Regions from separate parts of the Homo sapiens genome. Here all the other regions are linked to region 2. Evidence: promoter capture Hi-C in 16 types of primary human blood cells and fetal thymus (Javierre and others, 2016). All regions are on one chromosome and are shown on one strand. The core of a region is centred on a gene start or on the middle of the fragment in contact, and the rest is flanking DNA. Distances in the headings are between cores, read along the strand shown.

Region 1 (3,209 bases), core at 339-2,838, 300 kb before region 2:
CTTCCCCAAACCACAAAAGTAAGAAGTGTTCATTTTATACAGTGAAACAACACAGAGATCTACCAAGAAAACACTGATAACCCCCACTCTCAGATAACTCATGTTCGTGGCCTAACCTGGTCCTATTGCTCCTTTCTTTTCGTGACCACACAAACATGTGGATGCATTTATGGTGGGTTTGTTGTTGTCTGTTTGCTTTTGATGTTTGATTGTTTTAAAATTTTTTTGGATCATGCCATGCTGGTTTCATCGATATTTGCTCTTCTATCTTAACTAAATTTCTCTTTTACAATCTTTAGAAAAAAATGATATAGTTCCAACAGATACTTTTTAGAGCCATATAATATGCAATAGTAAGTATAAATTCAATTCAATCTTATTTTATTGTAGATGCATAGCTGATTTTGCCAGCACCATTTACTAAATATTATAATAATAAGTCATCGTTTTCCCACCTTCATTATATACTAAGTTTTCTGTATATACCTGTATCTACTTCTAATTCTCTGTCCTATCCATCATTCTATAGCAAAGCTATTCTGTTTTATTCTACTAGCTTGTATAAGTCCATTCTCCTATAAAGAAATAGTTAAGACTGGGTAATTTATAAAGAAAAGAGGTTTAACAGGAAGTATAGTGGCTTCTCCTTCTGGGGAGGCCTCAGAAAACTTACAGTCCTGGGGAAGCAGGCACGTCTTACACGGCCAGAACAGGAGTGGGAAGGGAGTTGTTACACACTTTTCAACAACCTGGTCTCATGATAACTCACTAGCTTGAGAACAGAACCTAGGGGATGGAGCTAACCCATTCATGAGAACTCTGTCCCATGGTCTATCCACCTCCCACCAGGGCCCACCTCCAACACTGGGGATTACATTTCAACATGAGATTCGGTGGGGACACAGATCCAAACCATATAGCTTTACACTAGATCTTAGATATACATAAAAGTCCTTCCCATGTTGCTTTTTTATTTGATATAATTTTTTGTCAACTCTCATTTTTTCTTTTGTGAAATTTAAAATTTTGTATCCAGGTTTTTTAAACATTAGAATTCTAGTGTTTATATATTAATTTTGGTATAGCTAATGTTTCAAGGGTATTAAGTCTTCTTATTAAGGACAAAATATGTTCTTCCATTTTGGCCTCATATCCTAAGTTTTGGGACTACTCTTCATTGCCATTCTTTTCTAAATAGCCTGTAATTATAATTTTTGTTTCTCCTTTGATCCAAGGGTTTATTTAAGAGATTGACTTGATTTCTTTATTTTCATTTATAAGTCATAGGGTGTTTTTTTTGTTTTGCTTTAGCTTGTTCTGTGATGTGATACAATTGTATTTGTGTCCACTTCTTCCTAGAATATCTAAGTTTTGACTTTATGTATTTAAATTTTTCTATTCAGTTAACAAAGGTTTGCAACTATTTTACCTTCATTATGGTTTGTAACTTTCATCCAAATGTAATTAGCCAATTTGTTCTGCTTAAATATTTTGCCTTTAATTCTGTTTCCTGATGTTACATTTGTTAGTCCTGTTTTCATGTTATTCATATACGCCTAATGCAAATTTTACAACCTTTACTTTTAATTTTTCCAGGTCATTTGGCATTAAGTTGTCTCTTGAAAACAAGAATGCATTTGGCTTTGCTTTTTAATCTAAACTGAAATGCTTTGTGTTTAACCTATTTACATTTTTCATCATAATTGATATGTTTGATGTTCCTTCTTTTATCTTGTTTTACATTTCTCATTTATCAAATTTAATGGCTTTTTTCTTTTTCCTCATCTTTGCTATACAGTCTATGTTTCTTTATTTTTTTTTTCTCCTAGATATTTGGATGAGGTGCATCCATTTTTATTTCTACCAGTGAGATTTACTTCTATCTGCAAAATTTAAAATGTTTTCTTGGACCTATATTTTCTAGTTAAAACTATTATAGACATACACACACCCATTGCTTTTCTATGTATGATAAAAAAAATCAATAGTTTTGTTTTAATTCTTCCCATGCCAGGTTTTTACTTTATATTGAGATGTTTAGTTAGATACAGTAAGTTTTCAAAAAAAAATTCAGGACACAAATATCTTAGTTCTTTGCCTTTTTTGGGGGGTGGGGGGGACAGGTTCTTCCTCTGTCACCCAGGCTAGAGTGCAGTGGCACAACCATAGCTCACTACAGCCTTGAACATCTAGGCTGAAGCAACCCTCCCACCTCAGCCTCTGAGTATCTGGGACTACAGGCACACACCACCACACCAGGCTAATCTTTTTTTTTTTTTTTTTTTTTTTTTTTTTTTTTTTTTTTTTTTTTGGTGAGACAGGGTCTCACTCTGTCACCTGGGCTGGGCTGGTCTTGAACTCCTGGCCTCAAGCAAACCTCCAGCTTCAGCCTCTCCCAAAGCACTCAAATTACAGATGTGAGCCACCATGCCCAACCTTGCCTTCTAATAACACCTAGATGTATTCGTATAATCCTCAGATTATAAACACTTCCCTTCAAAAATACTATCAATGTATTCTAGTATTTAATTTTGTGGGGGCATCTGAGGCAAATCTGATTTTTCTTTCCTCATAAGGAAATTATTTCTTTCTGTCTGGACTCTTTTCAGTTTCTTCACACAGCCTTGAAATTCGTAAGTGTCGTCAGGATTTGCCTAAGTATTGGGGTTTTTTTCAATGATGCCTGATGTCAATGACATCTTATAATGTGTAGACTCAAGCCTTTCTTCAGATCAGGAAACTTTTCTTTTCTTTTTTTTTTTTTTTTTTTTTGTTATTTCTTCTGTTCTGTTTGTTCTGGGATTTTCCTCATTAATAGCAACTATTATTCCTATATACACAAAACATATATATTTATCTTTCCATAGATTTTTCCTGATTTCTGAAAGAACTTTTTAAGTTTTTTATTTCACAAAGTTAATTTCTTTGTAATTACTTCTTATCTCTTCCAGCTCTTTTTGTATTCCTTCCTGGCTCTTGCCCAATGATCTTTTCATTAATCACTAAAACAAGTCCCAGCTATGGTGTGATGTCACCTGTTCAGCTCTGAAAGTGCATCTGATGGTCTCAGGTACCACCTCCAGTCCAGTGATGGCAATGTAACTAAGATCAAAGACATTATCTTGCTATCCTGAATCCCTCTGTGTAGGTCCACTCTTGTCTGAGTGGCAGAGTGCAATGAGCAGTGAGAGAGGGGCATGGAGTGGGAT
Region 2 (3,144 bases), core at 463-2,962:
ATGCTTATGCACTCAAGTAGGAAAAGGAGGACCAGGCCTGGCACGGTGGCTCATGCCTGTAATCCCAGCACTTTGGGAAACCAAGGAGGGGTGATCGCTTGAGCCCAGTAGTTGGAGACCAGTCTGGGCAACATGGTGAAACCCCATCTCTACTAAAAATACAAAAATTAACCCGGCATGGTGGAACGTGCTTGTAGTCCCAGCTACTCGGGAAGCTGAGGTGAGAAGATCGCTTGAGCCTGGGAGGTCGAACCTGCAGTGAGCCACGATCGCACCAGTGCACTCCACCCTGGGCGACAGAGACCCGGTCTCAAAAAAGAGAGAGAGAGAGAACAAGAACAAGTGGCTTCTCTGGCTATGAGAAGTCTATAAAGTTTTGAGGCCGGTGGCCTCAGAAGGCCTACCTGTGACAGAGAATGTTGGGGGGACACACGGGTTTTTCTGAATTAGAGCATGCCCACAACAGAGCTAAGCAATTGCCCGCAGAGGCATGTTACAAAACCACAAAGCAGGAACAGAGCTGAGAGGCCCCTGCCCAGAACACCCTGGAAGCTAAAACACAGGACCCTGAGAAATGAGCTCTACTACAGACAAGTCCAACAGAAAGTTCTCTGTTTCTGCTACCTCCAAAACTGGCTGCCCTCCCAGATTTAACTCTGGGTACCAATTGGGCAGTGCCAGCCACCGTGCTGGGCGGTGGATTCCGGGATGCCAAGTCTGTCTTCTTGGTTAGAAGGACACAAACCTCTGCAGTGTAGAGAATTGTGGGCATATCTGGGCTCCTCCACTGCATCAGGGCTACCTGCCTCCATCCAGCAAATACTTACTAAGCGCCTACCATATACGCCTGGCACCCAGCTAGACATCAAGTGGGAACCAAACCACAGTCCCTCGTCTCCGCAGGCAGAAACAGGCACCGTCCGGAGGTTGCGCGGGCCGGGAAAACCTGCCACAGGTTGCTAAGACCAGCTGTACCCAGGAGACAGCAGGATTCCCAGCAGCACCCAGCCCAGTAACGCCACAGACTCCCGGGAGCGAGGGCGGAGCGGACAGGTAGGCCCGAAGGCAGGTGCTCAGGTAGGAGGCGCACACCTGAGGCTGCCGGCCTGGGAAGGGCAGGCTCTGGCCGAAGGCGGGGTCCCCAGAGAAGGCTGCAGAGTGGTCCCGGGACCCCACGAGGGAGAGGGGGCGCGAGGAGCGGGCTCCGGCCTGGGCAAGCGGGTACGCGGCGGAGGCCCCGCAGCGGGGCGGGGAGGGAGGCGTGCGGCTAGGCCGCCCTCGGGCACCTGGGGCCCCGCCCGGCACCTACCACTTGGGCGACCTTGAGGCGGCCGAGCGCGCCGCGCAGGTAGTCGGGGTCGCAGCGCAGGCCGGCCAGCCCGCGGCGCTGGCTCACCGGCTCGGTGGTGGGCTGGTACGGGCTGCTGGCGCCCGAGATCATGGAGGTGCTCGAGGCCTCGCCCTCGAAGCCGTCCAGCTCCTCGCCGCTCCGCATGCTGCCGCCCGGCCCGGGCCGCCTCGCGCGGCTGGCTCCCGGCGCCAGGAGCGGGCGGACTCAGCGGGGCCGCCGCATCGCCGCCGCCGCCGCCGCCGCCGCCGCCCGACTGACTGCCCGCGGCCCGCCCGCCGCCGCCGCCTCTCGCCCGCCGCCCGGCTGCGGCTGCGGCTCGGTCCGCTCGGGCTCGGCTCCCGCCGCCTCGGCAGCGGAAAGGGAGGGAGGTGGGAGCCAGGAGAGGGAAGGAGGCGGGAGCGGGCGCGCCGGGCCGGGAGAGGCGGAGCCAGGCCGCAGCCGGCCGCTCGGAGGCGCTCCGCGGCTCGAGCGAGGTGGAGGCGGCGGCGCCGCGGGCCTCGGGGAGGGGCGGGGCGAGGCGGGGCGCCGGCTCCTCAGGCCCCGCCCTGGCCCCGCCCCCACCTGCGCCTAGAGCCGGGGCGGGAGCCGCTGGTGGGCGCTGGCGATCCCGGCACGCGGGGCGATGGGGTTCAGGCAGCGGGGTCTTGGGGCTGAGGAAAGGGTCGAGGTGGACCTGGAGGCCATGGAGTTGCTTTCCCAGACGCTGCCTCAGGTTCTCCTTTGAAGAAAGTGGGGTCCTCGACGCATAGGGTGGGGAGCTTCTCGGTAAAGACAGAGACGGGCTGCGCCACCCGGGTGCCGGGAACGGTGCGTGGCCAGGGTGGGCTTGACTCAGACTATTGGGCCGACGAGAGGTGGGTAAGTGCCTGTGTTCTCACGCTGGGCGCCTGGAACAAACCGGTTCCGAGGCCAGGGGCGGGCGGGGCAGGGTGAGGAGCCGCCCCACTGCAGGTTGTCCCCGCCGGCCTGACCCAGGCGACTGACATGTTCCTCTCCTCTCAGCTGAAAAGCTTTGCTAGCTCTGTCTACGCATAAAGTAAGGTTAAACACAGATTTTGCCCCGAAGGGCATTAATTAGGGACCAATTTACAATTCAAGTGTGAAGGCTAATTTTAAGCTAAGTAAAACACTGACTAAGAAGTGTCGCTTTGATATTGAACCCTTCCACAACCACAAATACCGAGAGCTTGCCATGTTCTAGGCACTGAGCAAGGCGCTTGAAGAACGTATCGTTGTTATTTCTATTTTACAGAAGAAGAGACTAAGGCTGCAGACTGGAAGTAGCTTGTCCAAGGTCACACAGTTCATTGGTGGGCAGAGCCCAGGTTCCTACTTTTTCTTTTTTTAAAAAAAAGTTATTTATTATTTTCATCATCATTATTTTTGTAGAGATAGGGCCTCACTGTGTTGCCCAGGCTGATCTCGAACTCCCGGGCTCAGGGGATCCTCCTGCCTCAGCCTCCCAAATTGCTGGGATTACAGGTGTGACTGACCATGCCCAGCCCTCAACTTTTTCAAAGATAGGAAGGACAGTGACTCTAATACTGTTGTCCTTCTGTATGGGGGCAAGAGAGGGAGCTTGTTTTCAGGACCCCCTCAAATACCAAAATCTGAAGATGCTCTCAAATCCTTTATATAAAATGGTGTAGTATTTACATATAACCTACACACATCTTCTCGTATACTTTAAATAATTGTTCTACTGTATTACTTTTTATCTATATTTTTGTGTGTGCGTGTGTGTGTTGTTTGGGGGTTTTTTGTGTGTGTGTTTTCTGAGACAGAGTCTTGCT
Region 3 (3,335 bases), core at 778-3,277, 280 kb before region 2:
TTTTAAAATAAAATATAGGTAAAATCTTCGTGACCTACAATTAGGCAGAGTTCTTGGAGATGACATCAAGAATTTAATTCATAAAAAGAAAAAATTTATAAGTTGGATTTCATTAAAACTAGAAACTTTTGCTCTAAAAAGAGCAAAATTAAAATTATAAGAATAAAAAGAAAAGCCATGGACTGTCATATGCCTGACAAAGGATATACAGACTATAGGAAGTACTCTCAAACTCAACAGTAAGAAAATAAGCAACCCAAGTTAAAAATGGGCAAAATATTTGAACAGACACTTCACTAAAGAAGATTATATGGATGTTAAATAAGCATAAATAAAGAAGATATATGGATGGCAAATAAGCATAAGATTCTCAGCATCATTACTCATTAGGGAAATGCACATTGAAACCACAATGACATGCCACTACATACCTACTATAATGGGGAAAAAACTGACAATACCAACTGCAGAGCCACTGGAGCACTCATACATTGCTAATGGGAATGCAAAATGGTAAAACCACTTTACAAAACAGTTTGGGAGTTTCTTATAAAGTTATAACACCAAAACCAGAAACAACAAAATGTCCCTCAACTGGTGAGGGGTGCTATGGTCTGAATGTTTCTGTCCTTCCAAAATTTGTAAGTTGAAACCTAATCCCCAATGCATGGGTATTTGGAAGTGGGGACTTTAGGGTGGGATTAAATTATGAAGTCAGACCGCTCATGAACGGGGTCAGTGCCTGATATGGTTAGAATATGTAACTCTTCCAAATCTCATGTTGAAATATAGTCTCCAGTGCTGGAAGTGGGGCCTGGTGTGAGGTGTTTGGTCATGGAGGTGGATCCCTCATTAATGGCTTGGCACATCCCCTTGGTGATAAGTGAGCTCTCACTCTGAGTTCATGTGAGATCTGGTTGTTTAAAAGTATGTGGCATTCCCCCACACACAATTTTGCCATGTGATGTGCCTTCTCCTGCTTTATCTTCCACCATGAGTAAAAGCTTCCTGAGGTCTCCCCAGAAGTCGAGGAGATGCCAGCACCATGCTTCCTGTACAGTCTGCAGAATTATGAGCCAATAAAACCTCTTTTCTTTATAAATCACTCAATCTCAAGTATTTCTTTATAGCAATGCAACAATGGACAAAGGCCGAGCACCGTGGCTCACGCCTGTAATCCCAGCAGTTTGGGAGGTGGGTGGATCACTTGAGGCCAGGAGTTCGAGACCAGCCTGGCCAACATGGTGAGACCCTATCTCTACTAAAATACAAAACTTAGCAGGCATGGTGGTGCACGCCTGTAATCCCAGCTACTCGGTAGGCTGAGGTAGGAGAATTGCTTGAACCCAGGAAGCAGAGGTTGCAGTGAGCTGAGATCACACCACTGCACTCTAGCCTGGGTGGCAGAGTGAGACTCCGCCTCAGAAAAAAAAAAAAGAATGGACTAACACAGTGTCCTGACAAAAGAGGCCCCAGAAGATCCCCATCCACCATGTCAGATATAGCTAGAAGGTGCTGTCTATGAACCAATAAGTGGACCCTCACCAGACACTCAATCTACCAAATCTGCTGATGCCTTTATCTTAGATTTGCCAGCCCCTGGAACTGAGATAAATACATTTCTGTTGTTTACAAACCACACAGTTTATGATATTTTGTTATATAGCCCAAATGGACTAAGACAAGTGAATAAACCAGCTCTGGCACGGCCATAAAATGAAACATTATCGAGCAGTAAAAAGGAAAGAAACATTGATACGTGCAACAACTTGGGTGAATCTCAAGTGCATTACGCCATTTGAAAGAAGTTAGACTCAAAAGACTACATACTGTGTGATCCCATTTATACAATATTCTGCAAAGGCAAAACTGTAGCAACAGAGAACATATCAGGGTTTCCAAGAGTTGGGGAGAAGGGAGGATTGGACTAACAAAGAGAAGCTGCATTAGAGAGACTTTTAGGGTGATGGAACTGTTGAATATCTTAATTGTGGTAGTGGTTACACAAGTCCATGCATTTGTCAAAATCATAAAACTGTACTCCAAAAAAAAAATTACCATATGTAAATTAAAAGTAAACTTTTGAAAGTCATCAACAAAATTTGAAAATAATGAAAAAAATTTGATCAGGGTCTGTCTCATTTTATAAGGGATCAATTTATTGGTCACTTTATTGATGTACAAGGTTCAGGGGCACTCTGTTACTTATTCATTTATTCTTTTTTTTTTTTTTTTTTTTGAGACAGAGTCTCACTCCATCACCCAGGCTGGAGTGCAGTAGCGTGATCTTGGCTCATTGCAGCCTCTACCTCCCAGGTTCAAGGGATTCTTGCGCCTCAGCCTCCTGAGTAGCTGGAATTACAGGCATGCACCACCATGACTGGCTAATTTTTATATTTTTAATAGAGACGGGGTTTCACCATGTTTGGCCAGGCTAGTCTCGAACTCCTGGCCTCAAGTGATCCACCTGCCTTGGTCTCCCAAAGTGCTGGGATTACAGGCATGAGCCACCACACCTGGTCTCATTCATTCTTTGTTTCTAAAATACCTGTTGAACAATGCACTAATGAAATTCCCTTGATTCTGTTCCTAACAGCTCTAGAAGCCCTCTCCGTCTCTACTGTTCCAACCTTAGTTTGAACATTCACTCTGCTATGGTATTCCCACAACTTTTCAGTTGGTTTTCTTATTTCTAGCCTCAATCCCCCCACCCCCAGGCCTTTTCCTGAAGCTACTGAAATGATTTTTCTAAAGCATAAATAAGATCTTACTCTCCCTTGCTCAAAACTCAACAGAACTTTTCATATCTTCAGTGGCTCTCCATTGACAATCAATGGAACCCAAACTCTTTAGCCTGGTACCCAAGGCCCTACATGATATAGCTTCTCCTTGACTTCTTAATCTCTTTATTTTTGTAGCCACCCTCATGCCATACATTCTAGTCAGACTGAGTTATTAGCCTTTACTCAGACATATGGTAGAGTGTGTTATTGGTCAAAATATTCACTGCCCTTCTCTGTGGGAGGATTGGTATCCCTGATGCACTGACGTCAAGCTTGGCCATGTGACTCATCCTGTCAAATAAAATGTAAGTGGAAGAGACTTATGCCACCCCAGAGCAGAAACTTTAAGAACCAATGTATGGTTCTACTATCTCTCTTCTCTCTGCCACCAGCAATGAACATATAACATGAGCTAAAAATAAACCTTCATTGTCATAAGCTACCAATATTTGGGGTTTGTTTGTCACCACAACATAACTTAGCCTAAGCTGACTGAAACACTCTTAGGTTGAGAGCGCCCCAATTATTCACTTTGTAGTCTCTGTGCATAGT

Evidence for each region. The method cuts DNA at HindIII sites, captures the fragments that hold promoters and counts their contacts. A CHiCAGO score of 5 or more calls a contact.
Region 1: a contact is called between a fragment that was not itself captured here and the fragment with the promoter of CMTM4 in region 2, in 5 of 17 cell types (total B cells, naive B cells, activated CD4 T cells and 2 more). The highest score is 9.1, in total B cells.
Region 3: a fragment that was not itself captured here is called in contact with the fragment with the promoter of CMTM4 in region 2 in 9 of 17 cell types (naive B cells, total B cells, activated CD4 T cells and 6 more); the score reaches 14.2 in naive B cells.

The regions. Positions count from the first base shown.
Region 1 is chr16:66,392,753-66,395,961 of GRCh38, forward strand. The region is part of intron 7 of CDH5 (cadherin 5); the gene reads left to right. Among named protein-coding and RNA genes, the nearest start is that of LINC00920, 14 kb to the right of the region's middle. The HindIII fragment of the contact is 9,921 bases long and covers 1-3,209 here.
Region 2 is chr16:66,695,031-66,698,174 of GRCh38, forward strand. CMTM4 (CKLF like MARVEL transmembrane domain containing 4) reads right to left here and starts at 1,713. Exons shown (of 4, transcript NM_181521.3): 1 at 1,310-1,713. The coding sequence starts at 1,495. RefSeq lists an enhancer at 916-1,755 and silencers at 1,226-1,515, 1,606-1,945, 2,186-2,245, 2,276-2,355. The HindIII fragment of the contact is 10,204 bases long and covers 1-2,359 here.
Region 3 is chr16:66,412,054-66,415,388 of GRCh38, forward strand. No RefSeq gene overlaps it. Among named protein-coding and RNA genes, the nearest start is that of LINC00920, 5.2 kb to the left of the region's middle. The HindIII fragment of the contact is 2,051 bases long and covers 1,003-3,053 here.